Regions from separate parts of the Homo sapiens genome. Here regions 1 and 3 are each linked to region 2. The links are contacts of gene promoters, found by promoter capture Hi-C in blood cells and fetal thymus (Javierre and others, 2016). All regions are on one chromosome and are shown on one strand. The core of a region is centred on a gene start or on the middle of the fragment in contact, and the rest is flanking DNA. Distances in the headings are between cores, read along the strand shown. Region 1 overlaps LOC101927118 (a long non-coding RNA gene). Region 2 holds the start of FABP5 (fatty acid binding protein 5). Region 3 overlaps LOC101927118 (a long non-coding RNA gene).

The links. Contacts are between HindIII fragments. The CHiCAGO score rates a contact against its expected background, and 5 or more counts as called.
Region 1: a contact is called between a fragment that was not itself captured here and the fragment with the promoter of FABP5 in region 2, in 4 of 17 cell types (M0 macrophages, M2 macrophages, endothelial precursors and 1 more). The highest score is 11.9, in M0 macrophages.
Region 3: a fragment that was not itself captured here is called in contact with the fragment with the promoter of FABP5 in region 2 in 4 of 17 cell types (M2 macrophages, M1 macrophages, M0 macrophages and 1 more); the score reaches 15.5 in M2 macrophages.

The regions. Positions count from the first base shown.
Region 1 is chr8:81,540,290-81,543,501 of GRCh38, forward strand. The region is part of intron 3 of LOC101927118 (a long non-coding RNA gene); the gene reads left to right. It also overlaps a transcript of FABP12 not described here. Among named protein-coding and RNA genes, the nearest start is that of FABP12, 8.0 kb to the left of the region's middle. The HindIII fragment of the contact is 1,281 bases long and covers 962-2,242 here.
Region 2 is chr8:81,278,805-81,281,915 of GRCh38, forward strand. FABP5 (fatty acid binding protein 5) reads left to right here and starts at 1,732. Exons shown (of 4, transcript NM_001444.3): 1 at 1,732-1,870. The coding sequence starts at 1,792. LNMICC (lncRNA associated with lymph node metastasis in cervical cancer) reads right to left here and starts at 2,620. Exons shown (of 2, transcript NR_186603.1): 1 at 2,529-2,620; 2 at 1-1,572. RefSeq lists enhancers at 1,375-2,209, 2,210-3,044 and silencers at 1,401-1,480, 1,491-1,780. The HindIII fragment of the contact is 5,532 bases long and covers 1-3,111 here.
Region 3 is chr8:81,560,805-81,563,845 of GRCh38, forward strand. It overlaps LOC101927118 (a long non-coding RNA gene), which reads left to right. Exons shown (of 9, transcript XR_001745980.2): 6 at 569-717. It also overlaps a transcript of FABP12 not described here. Among named protein-coding and RNA genes, the nearest start is that of FABP12, 28 kb to the left of the region's middle. The HindIII fragment of the contact is 1,690 bases long and covers 496-2,185 here.

The sequences.
Region 1 (3,212 bases), core at 352-2,851, 260 kb after region 2:
GACCACACTTAGACTCACTTCCAAAGAACAGAGTGTGAAAAGGGAAAAATAGTAACTTCAGCAAACTGGTAAATATCACATTAACCACAGGATCAAGTTTAATATCCCCAGTGTAAAGTCATGCTGTCATGTACCCTCTGCTAGGATGCAATGAGAAGGCATTTCACTTCTGTGGTCTTCCTAAACACTCATAACCCAAATTTAATCTTCATGTAATCTCAGATATATGAAGACAAAATTGAGGGATATTCTACAAAATACTCTTCAAACTGTCAAGGTCATGAATCACAAGGAAAACCTGGGAAATTGTCACAGATCTGTGGAAACTAAGGAAACATGATGACCAAATGCAATGTGGGATCCCAAATTGGATCCTGGAACAGAAAGAAACATTAGTAGAACAAATGGAGAAATCCAAATAAAGTCTATAGTTTAGTTGCTAGTATTGTAGCAATGTTCATTTATTGGTTTTGAAAAATATACACGTTAGATGTTAACATTAGGGGAAGCAGGATGAAGGGTATGTGGGAGCTCTGTACTGTATTTGCAACTTCTCTGTAAACCAAAAATTATTTCAACATTTAAAAACAAATCAAGGCCAGGCACGGTGGCTCACACCTGTAATCCCAGCACTTTGGGAGGCCGAGGCGGGTGGATCACGAGGTCAGGAGTTCAAGACCAGTCTGGCCAAGATAGTGAAACCTCATCTCTACTAAAAATACAAAAAATTAGCCAGGTTTGGTGGTGGGTGCCTGTAATCCCAGCTACTTGGGAGGCTGAGGTAGAGAACTGCTTGAACCCGGGAGGTGGAGGTTGCAGTGAGCCGAGATCACGCCACTGCACTGCAGCCTGGTTGACAGAGTGAGACTCTGTCTCAAAAAAAAAAAAAAAAATCAACAAATATAAAAAGACACACACACAAAGCGTGTATCACAGATATGCAGTATCTGCATCACCTGGAAGCTTGTTAGCATTGCAGATGATCAGAACCAACTCCAGATTTACTGAATCAAAAACATGCATTTTTCAAAAGATTTCTTTGGTGAATTGTTTAAACATACAATAAAATTTGAGAAGCCCTGTTGTTTACCATCAGCCTGGGAATTAACATTAGCTCAATCTTGTCTGGACCTGAAATACATATCAGTTTCGATTATTGAGCATCTGTGTACTTTTGAGACCCCCACGCTCAATTTGCAAACTAATTCTGACTGCTAAGTTTCTGAGCAATTCCCCTGGCCTCAGTCCTTGCATGGTAACACCCCTGATGAGGCTCAGACCATATCTTGTGTTTGCAAGGTTTTTTCTTTTTTAACTGAATGGAGTTTTGCCTTTGATCCCTTACTCTGTGCCTGTGGACCTGCTACCTGCCAAAGGCTTCCCTCTTGCTGACAGTCAACCTGCCTGGTATTTTAAGTACTGCCTTCTAGAAGTCTCCATGTGTCTCCCATGCTGACGATACTTGGATTTCTATCTATTGTTACTATAACCTCAGATGTTGTGCTTTACTTGTCAGATCCGACCATGACTTGGAAGTATCCAGAAATAGGACAGCGTGTAGAAATACTTCCCAATCAACAGCTCAACAAATAGGACTGGACTTCCAGGAGTCCCAGGGTTTAAAAAAAAAAAAAAAAAAAAAAAAAAAAAAAGACAAAGAAAATCTTTCAACAGGATCTGAGCCTAGAGGTAATGTCTAGGAGCCACTAGAGGCCTGGGAATAAAACTAGAAAGGTAAACAACTTCCTCTAGGGCCAGACTTTCTTTACTTTTGTGTCAGTGAAGTCTCAAAAACAAGAACCTACTGACTCTGTAAAGACAATTTGCTGATGGAGTATTGTTATAAAATCCCAGCCAGAATGGAGAAAAGGGAAACTTCCCGGGAGCTACTGGCCTTGACCTCCTTCTCTTGAGGAAAGGGAACGAAGTGAAATGCTGAAAGTTAAACATCAGGAGAACTTACTCTTAAAAATCAGGAGAACTTACTCCTTAAAAATGTTCCTGACCCAGTCTGTCATAAGGGAGCCTGGGGGGGTTCTTGCTTTATATAGGGTAACACTGGGCACTCACCTTGGGGCATCTTGGCAACTATCATCTTTGGGAAATATGGTCTGAATGGGACCATGGCACAGGGATTTTTAAGGGAACAGGAAGACCAGCAGTCAAATGACTTGGAGGTAATTGAGGCAACCCTACAAGGACCCGAAAGCTAGAACCAACCTGGTGAGAGGACACAGGGAAAAGCTTATGGGATTCCACATCTCTCTGAGTCATAAATGAGCTCTGGATGGGGCTGGATATTCCCACAAGTCTACAGGTGAGGGATAGGTCATGGATAACCAATATGCAACTCTCTGGGAGTGCAGAGTGTACTCAAGTTGCCAGTGATCTGCAGACAAGCCATTGGGTCACTAATCCATATTTACGCATGCACCCATTTCTAACTTTTATGTGTCTGATTTCTAATCTCCTCTTTTGAAAAGGTCTAATCTTGTTGCTGATGAACTGAGAAAAGATTTTCCCACATTTTGAGCAGAATAGAGATGAGATTAATATCTTTCACAACATCAGTGATTAAAACAGTTGCAAAATTTGGTGAGTCAGGATAGCTGGCAGGGGTGGGAGGTGTGGAGGACAAAGACTACCTGACAACATTGGCCCCTTGCTGCTGTGGAAAAGGCAACCTGTGCTCTAAGGGTTGACTTCAGTGAAAACTGTGGGAAGAAAATCCACTGTTCTATCAAAAGCTTTATAAAATATTCTGATATAATCTCCAATTTAGGACCTTTAAGCTTAACATTTTCACACTTCGGAGTCTAAAAATTACAATGAAATATCCAGTAGTAAAAGACATTGTCATTGAAGGCAGAGCACTTCCATCTCTGGCTTTGTGATCATACATGTACTTACGAAACTAATTAGCTTCAGGCTAGGCGGTATGTGAGTAATTTATCCCTCCCATATTAACATCAACTGTGAAATCTAAACTGAATGATGACATTCCAGAAACAATTGCATATGATGATTCTTCAGCAGGTTTGGGCAATGTAGAGTAGCTTTCATGAGAGACTACATCATCTCATGCTATTTTAATGATTATGGCTCTACTGGAAAGGAACACAAGGTGGAAAACTAGTTTAGCGCCTGGGCTCTGGTTCAAGTCAAAGTGAAGATGATGAGCAAGCACTATTTTAAAATTAATTTAGGAGATT
Region 2 (3,111 bases), core at 482-2,981:
TAAGGCCTTGGGATTAAAGGCTATTTCTTAAGTACCTAAGTATCTAGTACTCCAGTGCCATTATCTTTTTGATATTTCTGTAACATGTTAGATTATGATCATTTAAAAATTAGTATCAGAGTGCTGCGTCCTATTATTACTACATATAGTCTATACAGAAATGGATAAGACATGTTGAAATAGCACATGAAGAGCTCAAGTTCAAACACACAGGCAGCCCTAAGGAGCTGCCTGAAGTGCCTGGTAGCCAGGGCTTCTCATCACTGAGTAAATGATGCACTCAGCTTCCCTCAGAACACGAATATTTTCTGAGCAGTAGGGCCTCGGGTGTGGGACATGCAGACCCTTATTGGGAAAACAATTGAGTGTTAAATGGTACCACAAGGAAGACTGGTGTGACCCTAAACTGAGGGCAGGGACTTGAAATGAAAGGGATGCAGTTCAGGGGAGTACATGTCCTGCAGCATGTTGGGAGATAGCAAACCAACCTCAGATTTCAATTTTGTCAAGGATGATACAAGAACTAGTAGTGTCTCGGTGACTGTGGTCTACTCAGAGCTCCATCACAGCTACCCTGAGCCCAAGGCAGTCAGGTGTGGTCTGATTTCATAAGGTCTTCAGTGAGACGGACCTGGATGGGGATTCTGGTTCTACCACTGTGAGAACTATCTTTGCCCTATTTTCTCTTTTGAAAAATTGGGATAACACCCCTAGCAAAAATATAGTGGAGACCAATGTCTATAAAGTGCCCAGGAAGCACATCTAGCACTTAGTAGCTACTCAATAAATGCACATTACCGCTATCGAAACGGCCAGCCTGTGTGGCAACTTCCTCACCTCAGTCCATCTGACTTCCAACAGGCACCCGGGAGCACCAAGTAATAAATTGTGAAGAGTACACTTTGAAACGTATCATGTTCTACGCACATGTGTAGGGTATTATTATAGTTCAAGAGAAAGAGGGAACCCGCTGGTGTCTGAGAAGAAACCCGCTGGTGTCTGAGAAGAAACGGTGAAGGGTGCACTACGAAGGGAATATAAACTAATCAAACATTCTTGAATGGCAATGACAGTCACTAAAGTTGACACTTCCTGCAGTCTTTTAGTTTAGAAACCACACTTCCCGAGACGTCCCCCATCCCAACAGGGATAAAATCCTCTAGCTCAACTCAGGTATATCCCCACTATTGGGCCAGGGAGACCTGCGGATGGCGAGAGCAGGTTCTCTTAGGAGGGTGTGGATTGTGAGCTTGTGCGCTGGCGAGGAGCAGAAGGTCAGGGAGGCACCGTAGTTAATGAATCAATAAACCAAACAGCCGATCAATCACTTCCTGCAGTCCGAGTCCGGCGAGGGCTAATCGATTGGTCCGGGTATTTTGAAAGGAAAAACGGCGGTGGATATGTTGTCAAACGGAGGGGTGCAGGAGAGGCGGGGCCAGGCCTCCAGGTGACCCCTCTGGCTTCCTGGGCCTGCAGAGGCGCCGAAACGTGCAGGCGCCGGCGTCCATGAGGCGTGGGGCGCGCCGGGCGAGTCCCTGCTTGCAGGAGGCGCCCGAGAGGCCGTCGCGTACCCTGGCAAGAGGAGCTGGTTAGCACCTCCCGACCCCGAGAAGGCCCAGGGGGCGCCCGGCGGGCGGGGCGGGGACCGGGCGAGGCCCGCCTCCCATTGGCCGCATAGCGCCGCCCAGCGCGGGCCGCCGTTATAAAGCAGCCGCCGGCGCCGGGTGCCTCACAGCACGCTGCCACGCCGACGCAGACCCCTCTCTGCACGCCAGCCCGCCCGCACCCACCATGGCCACAGTTCAGCAGCTGGAAGGAAGATGGCGCCTGGTGGACAGCAAAGGCTTTGATGAATACATGAAGGAGCTAGGTGAGGCACCCGGCCTGGCAGCGCCTGCAACGTGGCGTGTTGTGCGGTCGTCTGTCCCTAGGTCCCCGTCAGCGTGCCAGATTCTGGGGCAGGAGATGCTCGGCGGCCTACCCCCATCCCCTCCCATCTTCCCCACCACGCGGCCGTTGGGTGCAGCGCGCGCAGCACCACGCGGGCAGGCGGCGAGGAGCAGGGAGCGTGCGCGCCTCTTGCCCGCCCGCGGGCCGCAAGATTCCGGAGGTGGTCCACCCCGTGGTCCACCTACCTCTGCTTCTTTCCCTTCGCCCAAACGGCAGCCCTTCCGCATTGCTTCCTGTCCTTTAGCGCGCGCACCCGTCACCTCACGCTGCACTTCTTTCGACCCCCTCCAGGCGACCCTGTATTTCCCTTTTTTCCCCCTTTACTCATCCTTCCCCTTCCTGCCACCATTCTGTCTCTCCCATTTACCCCATCGTGGCAGCACCCACTCCCCTTTCCCTCCCTGTCGCATCTTTTGTTCCCTGTGGCGCGCAGGTCACCCTCCGTTTTCTTCATGGGGACGCGGTGCTGGCGCGCAGTTTCCCGCAGAAATCCTGTGGAGGGGTCTGAGTGGCGCTACAGCTTCAGCTTGCATTCCTCTGTCAGCCCCGTCTCCCCCAGGTCCTCTGCTCGCCCTTACCAGTTGAGCCGAACCCTTTGGATTGGTACCCCATGGAACACCAGGGCCCCCGAGAAGCGTGGCGCTGGCGGTGCCGACCTGCTGCTGGCACTGCCGGGCCGGGGCGCCGCAGTGGGCGGGTGGCCTGTGGGAGGAGCGCAATGAGGCCTGGGGGTGGCCGTGTGTTGCCATCCTGGCCTCTGCCACTTGAGGGTGAGGAGGAAGGAGGCAGTGGGCTTTGCTGGAAAACCGTAACAGAAACTGCCTGGCCCTCCTGCGGCTAACTGCATGCAAGATGGGTGTGGCCCTGCAGAAGGCAGATGACTTCTTGAAGCGTTCCGAGGGAGAATGAATCTCAGTAGTAAGATTCATTTCTCACTCAAAACAGTGCTTCATTATAAATTACTGTCCTTTTCTATGCCAGTGACAGATTGCATGCTGATTGAGACACTGGATAAATTGCAAACAAAAATGGACCTTTGTCACAGGCCACTAGGAAGTGAGATGGAGTTAGCATAGCATGGATCCTCTCTGGAAGGGAGCTTCCAGCCCTAAGGGATGGCTGGGATTTATGAGGGTGCTTCAGAAGCCGGTATCCACAAAT
Region 3 (3,041 bases), core at 91-2,590, 280 kb after region 2:
GCAAGGACGCTGTGACATTAAAGTCCATGCTCTTAATCCTTAGGCTGTGCTGCTTCTAGGTAGTAAGTGAGGAAAGCAAAAGTAACCTCCGTGTTGAACTCACATTTGGCTGTTGTATCTTCAGGGTGTTACTGTGGCCTGAGGAGCCACAATGCTGCGGGGCAAAGGAGGGAAGGTGACCCGGCCACCCTTCTCTGCACACAACTTCTCATCCCACTCTATGTTTGTATCACATGTCTTTTCTAAGAACCTCTCGTTCTCTTTTCCCAGCCCCTAGAAGCAACAGGATTTGGTGGAAAACTGGCAGAATTTTTTCTTCCTAGTCTAGTCTATTTTTGGTCACTGTGAGAGCTCGGGCAAGTCCTAATTGTTCTCAGTTCCAAATCTCTAAAACAGAGTAATTATCTCCCACTCTTTCTGAAAGAATAAAATGATAACAGTGCATATGAAAGTACTTCATAAATGGGAAAATAATCTATATAATAGATTGGTCCAAGCTTAAGTTTGAAAAGTTGAGAACCCACTGGCAAAAAATAAAGTGGCATAAACTGATTTTTTTCTCTTCTAGTACTGTACCTAAGGTCCTAAAACATATTGGTGATATGGAAGGTAGACAAAATGGCCAAATAGAAGCCTTCACCCATTGTTCTCCCTGCAGAAACACTAAATTGAACAACTATCCACACATAAATCACCTTCATATGAAGCAAAAATCAGGTGAGTGATCACAGTATCTGGTTTTAACTTCATATCACTGAGAGAGGCACTGAAGAGGGTAGGAAAGACAGTCTTGAATCACCAATGGCACAGAGATAGAATCTGTGTGCATGGGGGAAGGAGGGCACGGTGATTGTGGGACTTTGCATTGGAACTCAGTACTGCCCTGTCAAAGCCGAAAGCAACACTAGAAGAACTCAGCCGGTGCCCACAGAGGGAGAACTGAGGCCAGCCCTAGGCAGAGGTGAGTTATCCATCCCAGTGTTTGGAACCTGAGTTCCAGCTAGCCCCATCACTGAGGGGCAAAGTGCTCTGGGGTCCTAAATAAACTTAGAGGCCAGTCTAGGCCATAAGGACTGCAATTCCCAGGAAAGTCCTGGTGCAGTGCTAGGATTGGAGCCAGTGAACTTGGGATGCACATGACATAGTAAGCTACTATCCAGGGTATCCAGAGAAGTGCTTGTGTCATGCCTCTTCCAACACCAGGCAGTACAGCTCCCAGCCCCAAAAGGGATTATTTCCACTTGAGGAGAGGGGAGAATAAAGAAAACTTTATCTTGCAACTTGGATACCAGCTCAGCCACAGTAAGATAGGGCATCAGGCAAAGTCCTGAGGCCCCTATCCCAGATGCCAGCTCCCAGATACACCCTGGGCTAGAAGGGAACCTGCTGCCTTGAAGGGAAGGACCCAGTTCTGGCAGGATTCATCACCTGCTGACTAAAGAGCCCTGAATAATCAGCAGTGGTACCCCGGCAGTATCACTATAGCCCTTGGGTAAGACTCAGAGATGTGTTGGCTTCAGGGGTGACCCAGTCTTTTCCCACCTTGGGTGGCTGTGGGGAGGGACCCCTTCTGCTTGAGAAAAAGAGAGGGAAAAGTAAAGGGACTTCGTCTTGTAGCTTACCTACCAGCTTGGCCACAGTAGGGTAGAACACCAGGTGTCATCTTGGGGTTCCCAATTCTAGGCCTTGGCTCTTGGATGTCATTTCTGGACCTGCCCTGGACCAGTCAGGAGCTCACTGCCCTGAAGGGAGAGTTCCACATCTGGCATTTACCACAGCTTGACTGAAGAGCCCTTGGGCCTTGAATGAACATTGGTGGTAGCCAGGCAGTACTCACTGTGGGCCTGGGGCAGTGGTGGCCACAGGAGAGAAGAGACTCCCCTGCTTGTGGAAAGGGAAAGAGTGAGAAGAACTTCATCTTGTGGCTTGGGTGCCAGCTTAGCTGCAGTAGAATAGAGGACCACATAGATTCCTAAGGTTTCTGACTCTAGGCCCTGGATTCTAGATGGCATCTCTGGACCTGCACAGGATCCGGGGGAACTTACTTACCTAAGGAGAGGATACAAGCCTGGTTGGCTTCACAACCTCTCATCATAAGAGTCCTGGGGCCTTCAGCCTTGAGCAAATGTAAGTGGTAGTCAGGCAATGATTACAGCAGGACTTGTGTGAGACCCAGTGCTTTGCAAGCTTTAGGTCAGACCCAGCACAGACCCAGTGGGGGTGGCCACAGGGGTGCTTGGGCCACCCCTCCCGCAGCTCCAGGCAGCTCAGCACACAGAGAGATACTTTGTTTGAGGGAAATGAAGGAGTGAAGACCAGTCTCTGCCTGTTAATCCAGATAATTCTTCTGTATCTTATCCAAGTCCACCAAGGTGGTACCTCTATGAGTCTGCAATAGCCACAGCATTACTGGGCTTGTGATACCCCTAAACAGATACAGCTACAGTGATCAAACACTTAGATCACAGCATGCAAGTCCCTTCAAATACCTAGAAAGCCTTTCCAAGAAGGATGGGTACAAACAAGCCCAGATTGCAAAGACTATAATAAATACCCAATTCTCCAATGCCCAGATGCTGACAAACCTCCACAAACATCAAGACCAGCCAGGAAAATATGACCTCACCAAATGAACTAAATAAGGTACCAGTGACCAATCCTGGAGAGACAGAAATACATAACATTTCAGATAGGTAATAAGTAATTTTGAGGAAACAATGAAATTCAAGATAACACAAAGAAGAAATTCAGAGTCTGATCAGATAAATTTAATAGGGAGATTGAAATCATTAAAAAGAATCAAGCAGAAATTCTGAAGCTGAAAAATGCAACTGACATACTGAAGAATGCATAAAAGTCTCTTAGCAGCAGAACTGATAAAGCAAAAGAATTAGTGATCTTGAAGGCAGGCTATTTGAAAATACACAGTCAACAGAGAAAAAAGAAAGAAGAATAATAAAGAAAGAAACACACCCACAAGATCTAGAAAATACCCTCAAAATGACAAATCTAAGAGTTATTGGCCTTAAAGAGTAGAGGCT